2 separate regions of the Homo sapiens genome follow, and region 1 is linked to region 2. The links are contacts of gene promoters, found by promoter capture Hi-C in human tissues and cell types (Jung and others, 2019). All regions are on one chromosome and are shown on one strand. Each heading gives the region's core, a stretch centred on a gene start or on the middle of the fragment in contact. The rest is flanking DNA. Distances are from core to core; before and after follow the strand shown. Region 1 overlaps LAMP1 (lysosomal associated membrane protein 1). Region 2 holds the start of GRTP1 (growth hormone regulated TBC protein 1).

Region 1 (5,062 bases), core at 1,022-3,521, 42 kb before region 2:
GACCTGAGCTAGGGTGGTGACTTGCTTGCTTGTCTTATGCAGACGGTGACAAGGCTTCTCAACATCAACCCCAACAAGACCTCGGCCAGCGGGAGCTGCGGCGCCCACCTGGTGACTCTGGAGCTGCACAGCGAGGGCACCACCGTCCTGCTCTTCCAGTTCGGGATGGTGAGGCTGGGGCGGCACCTCTCTGGGGGCGCCCACTGTGTCTCCACCACATCTTTTTGTGCCCTGGGTCTGCTCATGGGAGGCAGCGTTAGGAAGGAGGCGGCCTCACTTTTTTCTGCCTTCCCTTTATCCTGGGCTTTTTAGTTCCTTGGTTCCCCTCCCCCCTTTCCATTCCATTCATAGATGCAGCAGATGATGTGGGCGGGGCTGCTGTGCCCACAGTTGGAGTGGCTGCAGGGGAGGGCATGCAGGCCGTGCGGCCTTCTGGCTTCAGATGCTGCTGCCCTGTGGTTCCGTGGTGGCATTTCTGCCTGGGAGGACTCCTGTGCAGTTAGCAACATAAGACATGAAGCATATAATTGTCACTTGTCAGTCTTTTTAAATCGCTGTGCAAATGAATTAACAGTTCAGTTTCTTATAATTTTAGCTTTCCAAATCATGCTTTCCTGTGCTGTGATAGCTCCTGCAGTCCCCGTTTTCCAGAGACTGACTCTCAAGAGGTCTGGAAGGACCAGCCTGGGCAGCACAGGGAGGCTCCATTTCTGCAAATAATAAAACGAGTTAGCTGGGCGTAGTGGCGCACACCTGTGGTCCCAGCTACTTGGGAGGCTGAGGTGGGAGGATCACTTGAGCCCAGGAGTTAAGGTTGCGATGAGCCGTGATCACTCCACTGCACTCCAGCCTGGGTGACAGAGCAAGACTCTCAGAGAAGGGTCTGGAAGGAACTAACCAAAATTTTCATTCCCCAGAGATACACAACGCCTTTTATAGACAAGATCTTTTGCAGTTTTGTTCTAATACTAGAAATGTAGGAAGTCAGGTTTATTACCCAATGACCATTCACGTTTGATGATAAATGTGTGAATCTACTGGGGTTAAAGATCATCTTTCTATGAATCTGCTCCGTGATTAAAGATCATTTTTCTTTTTAAGAATGCAAGTTCTAGCCGGTTTTTCCTACAAGGAATCCAGTTGAATACAATTCTTCCTGACGCCAGAGGTGAGAACCCACAATCTCTGCGAGCCCCGCCCCCGCCCGCGCGCCCAGGGTATTCTGGAGCCACTAGACCTCTGTGTGTGTTGCAGACCCTGCCTTTAAAGCTGCCAACGGCTCCCTGCGAGCGCTGCAGGCCACAGTCGGCAATTCCTACAAGTGCAACGCGGAGGAGCACGTCCGTGTCACGAAGGCGTTTTCAGTCAATATATTCAAAGTGTGGGTCCAGGCTTTCAAGGTGGAAGGTGGCCAGTTTGGCTCTGGTGAGTGTCACCGAGGGCAGCTGTCGCGGGGTGTGGAGGACGTGCTTCAGACTCCGCCTGTGGACGTTTAGTCGCTTCCGTGTGGGCTGGGGCGACGCCCCTGTTCCTCTGCAAGGAGCTGTTTCTTCTTGCCGGTCTGAGATTCTAGAGGTAACTCCCCCTGCTTTAGAGAGGCCCAGCGTGTCTCTCAGCTGGGAGCCCCTGGTACCATTTGAGAGTAAGGGAATCATTTTAAGAAACAGTGGTGGCGCTTCTCCCATGAACGTTGAATACAACACTGTCATCTGATGTGCACAGAGGCCCTGGACGCAGCACAGCTGTCCGGCCACAGCCCCTGATTCCAGACGGGGGAGAGACGTGTGTGGTTTCCTCGCCGTGCAGAGAGCACCAGTCTCTGCAGCGGCTTCCCCAAGTGACAATTCCAGCTAGAGCTGGAACCTTCCGCCAGGGTTCCTCTTTGCCTTTTGGCTGATGTGGGGGAGTGGTGGGGAGAGAGGCCTGTTTGCAGGCCCCTGTGTGAGCAGAGCCCTGACACCATCCGTCTGTCTTGGCAGTGGAGGAGTGTCTGCTGGACGAGAACAGCATGCTGATCCCCATCGCTGTGGGTGGTGCCCTGGCGGGGCTGGTCCTCATCGTCCTCATCGCCTACCTCGTCGGCAGGAAGAGGAGTCACGCAGGCTACCAGACTATCTAGCCTGGTGCACGCAGGCACAGCAGCTGCAGGGGCCTCTGTTCCTTTCTCTGGGCTTAGGGTCCTGTCGAAGGGGAGGCACACTTTCTGGCAAACGTTTCTCAAATCTGCTTCATCCAATGTGAAGTTCATCTTGCAGCATTTACTATGCACAACAGAGTAACTATCGAAATGACGGTGTTAATTTTGCTAACTGGGTTAAATATTTTGCTAACTGGTTAAACATTAATATTTACCAAAGTAGGATTTTGAGGGTGGGGGTGCTCTCTCTGAGGGGGTGGGGGTGCCGCTGTCTCTGAGGGGTGGGGGTGCCGCTGTCTCTGAGGGGTGGGGGTGCCGCTCTCTCTGAGGGGGTGGGGGTGCCGCTTTCTCTGAGGGGGTGGGGGTGCCGCTCTCTCTGAGGGGGTGGGGGTGCTGCTCTCTCCGAGGGGTGGAATGCCGCTGTCTCTGAGGGGTGGGGGTGCCGCTCTAAATTGGCTCCATATCATTTGAGTTTAGGGTTCTGGTGTTTGGTTTCTTCATTCTTTACTGCACTCAGATTTAAGCCTTACAAAGGGAAAGCCTCTGGCCGTCACACGTAGGACGCATGAAGGTCACTCGTGGTGAGGCTGACATGCTCACACATTACAACAGTAGAGAGGGAACATCCTAAGACAGAGGAACTCCAGAGATGAGTGTCTGGAGCGCTTCAGTTCAGCTTTAAAGGCCAGGACGGGCCACACGTGGCTGGCGGCCTCGTTCCAGTGGCGGCACGTCCTTGGGCGTCTCTAATGTCTGCAGCTCAAGGGCTGGCACTTTTTTAAATATAAAAATGGGTGTTATTTTTATTTTTATTTGTAAAGTGATTTTTGGTCTTCTGTTGACATTCGGGGTGATCCTGTTCTGCGCTGTGTACAATGTGAGATCGGTGCGTTCTCCTGATGTTTTGCCGTGGCTTGGGGATTGTACACGGGACCAGCTCACGTAATGCATTGCCTGTAACAATGTAATAAAAAGCCTCTTTCTTTTTGGGGTGGGCCTTGTCCTTCTGTCAGCTAAAATGGGAGCTCATGAGAGAAGGACGTCAGGGAAACGGGGTTGAGGGTGGTCTCGGTGCAGAGAGAAGGGTGTCAGGGAAACGGGGGGTGAGGGTGGTCTTGGTGCCAGACGTAGGGAATGGTGTTGGGAGTGGCCCGAGTGCCTGGCACAGTTGTCTGGTTCATTCATGTAACATGATAATTTTTAAATCATTAAAAAAATTACCTTTCATACAGATACCATGGAATACTATGCAGCCATAAAGAGGTATGAGATCTTGTCCCCTGCAGGGACACGGATAGAGCTGGAAGCCATTATTCTCAGCAAACTAACACAGGAGCAGAAAACCAGACACCACTTGTTCTCACTTGTAAGTGGGAGCTTCTGATGAGAACACATGGACACAAGGAGGGGAACATCACACACTGGGGCCCGTTGGGTCGGGGGCAGGGAGAGCATCAGGAAGAATAGCTAAGGGATGCTGGCTTCATACCTAGGTGACAGGATGGTCTGTGCAGCACATCACCACGGCACACGTTTACCTGTGCAACAGACCTGTACACCCTCCACCTGTACCCAGAAGTTAAAAGTTGAAGGGAGAAAATGATCTTTCTAAAGAGAAATCACCTACTACGTGCAGAAGCCTCACATAAACTGCACGCTCTGTCACAGAAAGGAATGGAATATTGACACTGCCGCTGTAAGACCTCAGTGACCACTCACTATGTTAATTTCCAGTCAGCTGAGAAACTGATCACAAACACAGGTGTTGGCATACTTTATTAGATACAAACCCACACTCACATTTTATATATTATTGATCTCTCAGGTAAAAATAAGTTTTCTTTAAAAAGTATGACTTCATAGCTAATCATCAAAAGCTGGTAGAATGACCTGATTTTAAACTGCTCTTTTAAAAAATTCACAACTAAAGTGTAGTGATGTCAAGTATTTACAACACTAAAAAGGAAAGCAGTGAAAGTTGGTCCAGTGTCAACTCTGGAAAGGGGCATCGTCAGTGTAGAGACGAGCAACGCAGGGGACAGGCACGCTCACCCCTGTGCCAGCAGCCGGGCCCTGCAGCTCTCGCGGAGCTTGGCGACGGTGGCCATGGATAAGCTTCCAGGTTCTGAAAATATTTTCTGGAAGGCAAACAGTTAGTTTAAAAACAAACCCAACAACCCATTTCTACGTTAGCTCTCCCAGACTGGCAGGCAGGCAGACAGGCCTCGTGTGAGGTGAGGGAGGAGCAGTCCACATCCAAGGGCTTCTGGGGTGACCCACAGATTGTCACCATCTCACTCCTGCCCTGGGGCCTAGGACTGCAGCTTTGCTGCTCAGAAATGTTAAATGAATCAAACGGTGGAAGAAAAGGCCATCTGCTTCCATTAGACTTTTTTTTTTTTTTTGAGACAGAGTCTCACTCTGTTGCCCAGGCTGGAGTGCAGTGGCGCGATCTCGGCTCACTGCAACCTCCGCCTCCCAGGTTCAAGTGATTCTCGTGCCTCAGCCTCCCGAGTAACTGGGACTACATAAGCGTGAGCCACCACACCTGGCTAATTTTTGTATTTTTTAGTAGAGACGGGGTTTCACCGTGTTGGCCAGGCTGGTCTTGAACTCCTGACCTCAGGTGATCCACACGCCTTGGCCTCCCAAAGTGCTGGGACTGCAGGCGTGAGCCACCGCGCCCGGCCAACATGGTCTTCTCTTTGATGAAGGCCCAGCTGCTGAAATACCGCCCACGTTTGCCATGCTGCACCCAGAGTGGCCCCGAGCCTCCACTCCCTCTTAGGAAACTACTGACTCCCAGGCCTGAGCCTCTCCTGGCGTCTTGGCTTCCTCAGAAGGCCTGTCAGGTACAGCTCCCACAACGCCCTCATCAGGACCTGAGTCTATACGGCCTGCGCCAGGTCCAGGACCCAGTGGGGA
Region 2 (5,045 bases), core at 1,174-3,673:
TGGGGGCCATGGGTGGGAGAGAAACTCCCTGTTGCACTTTGTAGCCCTCAGTATGATTAAAGTGTTTACCATGTACATAAATTATGCTTTTTAAGTTCACATGTCTTATATACTTTTACGTTACTTTTTAAAATTAAAAGACAGTTAACTTTTAAGAATAAATCAGGCGCAGTGGCTCATGCCTGTAATCCCAGCATTTTGGGAGGCCAACGTGGGCAGATCCCTTGAGGTCAGGAGTTTGAGACCAGCCTGGCCAATATGGTAAAACCCATCTCTACTAAAAAATAGAAAAATTAGCCTGGCGTGGTGGTAGGTGCCTGTAATCCCAGCTACTTGGGAGGCTGAGGCAGGAAAATCGCTTGAACCCAGGAGGCAGAGGTTGCAATGAGCTGAAATCATGCCACTGCACTCTAGCCTGGGCGACAGAGTGAGACTCCGTCTCAAAATAAAAAAAATAAGAAAATAAAAAATAAATTAGCCAGGTGTAGTGGTGTGCACCTGTAATCCCAGCTACTCAGGAGGCTGAGGCAGGAGAATCACTTGAACCCAGGAGGTGGAGGTTGCAGTCAGCTGAGATCGCACCACTGCACTCCAGCCTGGGCGACAGAGTGAGACTCTGTCTCAAAAATAAATAAATCAAAAAGAATAAATGAAAAGGAAAAATAAAGACACACGTTCCACTGGAAACATGTGAACATGCAGAGGCCACAGGGATGGGACATGATGCATTCGTGGGAAGCATATAGGATATTAACTTCCATCTCTATAAAAAATTTAAAAATTAGCCAGGAGTGGTGGCCACACCAGTGGTCCCAGCTATGCGGGAGGCTGAGAGGGGAGGATGGCTGGAGCCCAGGAGGTCAAGGCTACAGTGAGTGGTGATTGTGCCACTGCACTCAGAGGGATACCCTGTCTCAAATAAATAAATAAAAGCAAAAGTTGATCTTGTCACCCCCTGCCTGGAAAACCTTTAACAGTTGGCTTCTCTGTGCCTGGCCGTGGTCACCACACACCTCCGACCCTCCGCCCAGGTGCAGGGCCCCTGGTTTCATCTCTGTCCTTCCCCACCAGGTCCCTACTGCTCGGTCCCTGGAAGCCCAGCTGCCATTCACATCCCCCTTCTCAGGAAGCCCCCAGGACTCCCCTTTGACCCCACTTCTCTGAGTTCCTAGCTCCAGGGCACACTCCCACCAAGCCCTCACCCCAGGCAGACACTTCATTCATTCACTGAACACACAGGGAAGTCGCCTGGCACTGCCCCAGGTTCTGAGGACTGAGCAGTGAATGAAAAATCCGTTGCAGGGAGGAAGGGTTTTTGACTCCAGCAGGGGCTGTGCTGGGAAAGGCAGAAATGAGGAGGTGCCCTCCGCACAGGGAAGCCTGGGGCGCCCCGGAGGAGGGGGCCCTGCAGCTAACCCCGAGGCGGGCGGGCGGTCAGGCCGGTGCTCACCGCAGCAGTAGGAGGCCTGGGGTCGCGGAGGAGCGGCAGGTCGAGCAGGGCCCTGTGGGTCCCGTCACAAGGACGGAGTCTCGCTCTGTCGCCCAGGCTGGAGTGCAATGGCGCAATCTCGGCTCACTGCAACCTCCGCCTACTGGGTTCAAGCGATTCTCCTGCCTCAGCCTCCAGAGTAGCTGGGACTACAGGCAGGAGCCACCACGCCCGGCTAATTTTGTATTTTTAGTAGAGACGGGGTTTCACCATGTTGGTCAGGCTGGTCTCAAACTCCTGACCTCGTGATCCGCCCGCCTCGGCCTCCCAAAGCGCTGGGATTACAGGCGTGAGCCACCGCGCCCGGCATGGATCGAGTTTTGATCCATCCCGATATGGCTCCCTGCTGGGAGGGACGGGTCTCCTTCGCGTCCGACCCGCCGGCCCATCTCAAAGCGGGAAAACCGGTCCCTGCGGCTGCCCTAGCTCGGAGCCCGCAGCTTCGTCCCGACCTGCCCGGAAAGGTTCCTCCCCCTCCCTCCGCTCCGGGAGCCCGGACTTTGCCCGGCCCGTCCCAGCCCAACCCACCTGCGCCCTCGGGACCCACCTGCGCCCCCGGGACCCACCTGTCCGGCTCCTGGGGACGCCCCCGCCCTGCAGCAGCCGGGACCATTTGATCGCCCTGCGGGTGAGCGTGACCAGGTAGCTGGAGAAAAACTTCTCGTAGGCGGCGTCGTCGAAGTCCTCAGGCCGCTCGAATCCGTACGGGTCGATCCTGCAAAACCGAGAGAAGGAGGCCGGCGTCCCCGAAGTTTCCTCTGGGGGGTCGCGGGCCCGCGCGGGGACCGCAGCCGCCGGGGACGCCCGCACCCCGCGCCACACACCTGGGGACCCGCGAGCGCTCGGCGGGCTGCATGCGGGGAGGGAGGCGCGCACCGAGCGAGGCCAGCGGGTCCCAAGTTCGCCTCCCGGCTCCGGGGCGCTTAAGTCCTTCCGGCGGGACCGCGGGCGCGTGGGGGCGGGGCGGGGAGCGGAGAGGGGCGGGGCTGGAGGCGGGGGCGGGGGGGGGCAGGGCGGGGGGAGGGGCGGCTGGGGGCGGGGAGGACTTGGGGAGAGAGGAGGGGCAGGAGCGGGGGAGGGGCAGGGGAGCACCCAGGGCGGGGGAGGGGCGGGGCTGGGGGCGGGAGGACCTGGGGAGAGAGGAGGGGCAGGAGCGGGTGAGGGGCGGGGGAGGGCCGGGGGAGGGGCAGGGGAGCACCCAGGGCGGGGGAGGGGCGGGGCTGGGGGGGCGGGAGGACTTGGGGAGAGAGGAGGGTGGGGGCGGGGCGGGGCCTGCTCCCGGGGCTTCCGAGGCCGCGGCGTCCCGCGGGCAGAATCGGGGGCGCCTCCCGCAGAACCCCCGCGGCCTGGACCCGGGTGAGAGGAGCTTCTTCTGCGATTCCTTCAAACCTCAGTGCCTGGCCGACCCGACTCTGACACCTGACTCCTATTTTTATTTTATTTTTTATTTTCTCCGCTGCATTTCAAGGCCGAGACCAACACACAAATGAGAAGCCCCCAGGGGCGCCCGCCCGTTCCTGCCCCCCCAAACCAGGGACCGGGGTCCCCCCACCGGCGAGCCAGGCCTGGGAGAATCCGGGGCAGCTCTGGTTCCGAACGGCTTCTTCTCGGTCCGCATCCAATGACATTGTCCTGAGATTTCAGCTGCTTTTCGTGTCCGGGAGGCCCCGGAAATTTGCCAGAACTGCAGATTTTGAATTTTGCTCTGGCGACGTGGCAAAGGGGAGCCCCCAGACGTGAGGCGCTGGGGCGACCTCGCCCTGGGTCCCCCAGGGGTCTGGAGCGGGGGCTCCTCCGACAGGCCTCTCCCCGCCTGTAATTTAGGCCCAGGGCGACCTGGACAGGCCCCAGGAGGAGGCCGTCCCCGGACTCCAGACGCACTTTCCTGTGAGAAGCAGCCCGGCCTCGTCTGGGTGAGGCGAGGATCACAGGCTCAGCGTCCCCTGCGCGTCCGTCAGGGCCTTTCGGAACCAACTTGGGACCTTCCCATGGGTGTTTCCGGAATGTTCCATGCGAGCGCCACCCAGGAGCCTGGTCAGCAGCGTGTGGAACGGACCGGTCCCTAAGTGCGGACTCCCGCCTCTGCCTTTCACCCTTCTCCAGCCCTTGCAAGACCGGGGGGCGGGGTGGGGGTCAGTGCCCAGCGGAGCAGAGCCCCCGACACGGTTCCTCCCGTTCCTAGTCTGCTGGTTCTGGGAACTCCCCAAGCTTTCAGCCCAGCTCCTCAGCACTGGCCTTTGGTAACACGCGGCGTCCCTCATTTGAAAGATCACACAGCCCCCACTCTACGGTCTGACCTCCTTGGGATGTTTAGACCCAAGCCAGGAGACAGGGCCATAGCCTCCTGCCCCTCGGCCTACGGGTGCCCCACAGTCCAGGACTGACAGGTGGGCGTCCGTCCCCAGGGTCTTCGAACCCCGTCTGGGCTCCTCTCTGCCTAAGTCAGTGACTCCCTGAACCCCTCTCGGGCTCTAACTGACGCCCGAATTTCCTATATCGCATCCCTCGCGCTTTCTGGAGCAACAGACACAGTCCTGCTCCCCACTTCCCAGCACCCGGGGTCCTGCGCCCAAATCGCCCCACACCGCGCAGCTTCTGTTCCAACCCCAGGCCTGGAAGCCTCACGGCTCCCCTTTTCCCTAATTCCTGCCTTCTGGCCATGGAGATGGGGTTCTAACCTCCCTTTCCCACCACTGCCGTGGAAAGCAGCGTGGCAGGCAGCACGGACCAGGGGCCGCCAGCTCCCGAGCCTGAGTGTGATGGCGGGACTGCCACCAAGTGTATTTTTGGGCCAGATGTAGGGAGACTGTGGGGGAGCAGGTCAGATAAGAGCGGTGCCCTCCAGGAAGAGTGGAGAGGAGAGATACAGAGAGGCCAGAGCCCCAGGCTCTGTGCAGGGTGGGCAGCCAGACCGAGGCAGCTAGAAAGGTCTCCCGCTCCAGCCCAGGCCTGGCCAAGCCCCAACCTGGGACCTGACTGGGAGACAGCAGCTCCTATCTGGAACAGCTCCCACCTGGGACAGCTCCCACCTGGGACTGTGTCCCTCAGGTGCCTCCATTCACCGCCCCCCCGACCCCAGTGCCAAGCACCCAGCAGGCACCCGAGCATCCTCACACAAACTCCCTTTCTGTGAAGCCACCAGCACAGTCAGCCATGATGCAAAAGCCAGGTGCACACCCACCCCAGGAGTGACTGTGCTGGCCACAGCCGCTCCAGACAGCCCTTTCCGGGGGAGGCTTTGCAGTGCTGGAGCTCTGGGTCAGCTTGCCCTGCAGTTCAGGGACTCAGAATTCACCCTCCCCCGGGGGACCCAGCTCCCTTGCAGGAGGCCCTCTTCAGTCTGAGGGGCCTCAGGGGCCACACCAGGGGGCCTCTGTGGGGTCACCACCCATGATGCCCCTCCTCCCTTCAGGAATTCAGCCGTCTTGTTGCTTTTTTTTTTTTTTTTTTTTGAGTCGGAGTTTCACTCTTGTTGCCCAGGCTGGAGTGCAATAGCTCAATCTCGGCTCACTGCAACCTCCGCCTCCTGGGTTCAAGCGATTCTCCTGCCTCAGCA

What was found. Contacts are between HindIII fragments. The study calls those that stand out against the background at their distance.
Region 1: a fragment that was not itself captured here is called in contact with the fragment with the promoter of GRTP1 in region 2 in 1 of the 25 tissues and cell types used here (IMR-90 fibroblasts).

The regions. Positions count from the first base shown.
Region 1 is chr13:113,320,303-113,325,364 of GRCh38, forward strand. It overlaps LAMP1 (lysosomal associated membrane protein 1), which reads left to right. Exons shown (of 9, transcript NM_005561.4): 6 at 43-168; 7 at 1,102-1,168; 8 at 1,255-1,425; 9 at 1,980-3,370. The coding sequence ends at 2,119. It overlaps GRTP1 (growth hormone regulated TBC protein 1), which reads right to left. Exons shown (of 8, transcript NM_024719.4): 8 at 3,861-4,275. The coding sequence ends at 4,186. Among named protein-coding and RNA genes, the nearest start is that of LAMP1, 26 kb to the left of the region's middle. The HindIII fragment of the contact is 7,319 bases long and covers 1-5,062 here.
Region 2 is chr13:113,361,707-113,366,751 of GRCh38, forward strand. It overlaps GRTP1 (growth hormone regulated TBC protein 1), which reads right to left and starts at 2,424. Exons shown (of 8, transcript NM_024719.4): 1 at 2,314-2,424; 2 at 2,056-2,204. The coding sequence starts at 2,345. GRTP1-AS1 (GRTP1 antisense RNA 1) reads left to right here. Exons shown (of 2, transcript NR_120385.1): 2 at 1-162. RefSeq lists a silencer at 2,008-2,302 and enhancers at 3,290-3,983, 3,984-4,677. The HindIII fragment of the contact is 3,925 bases long and covers 888-4,812 here.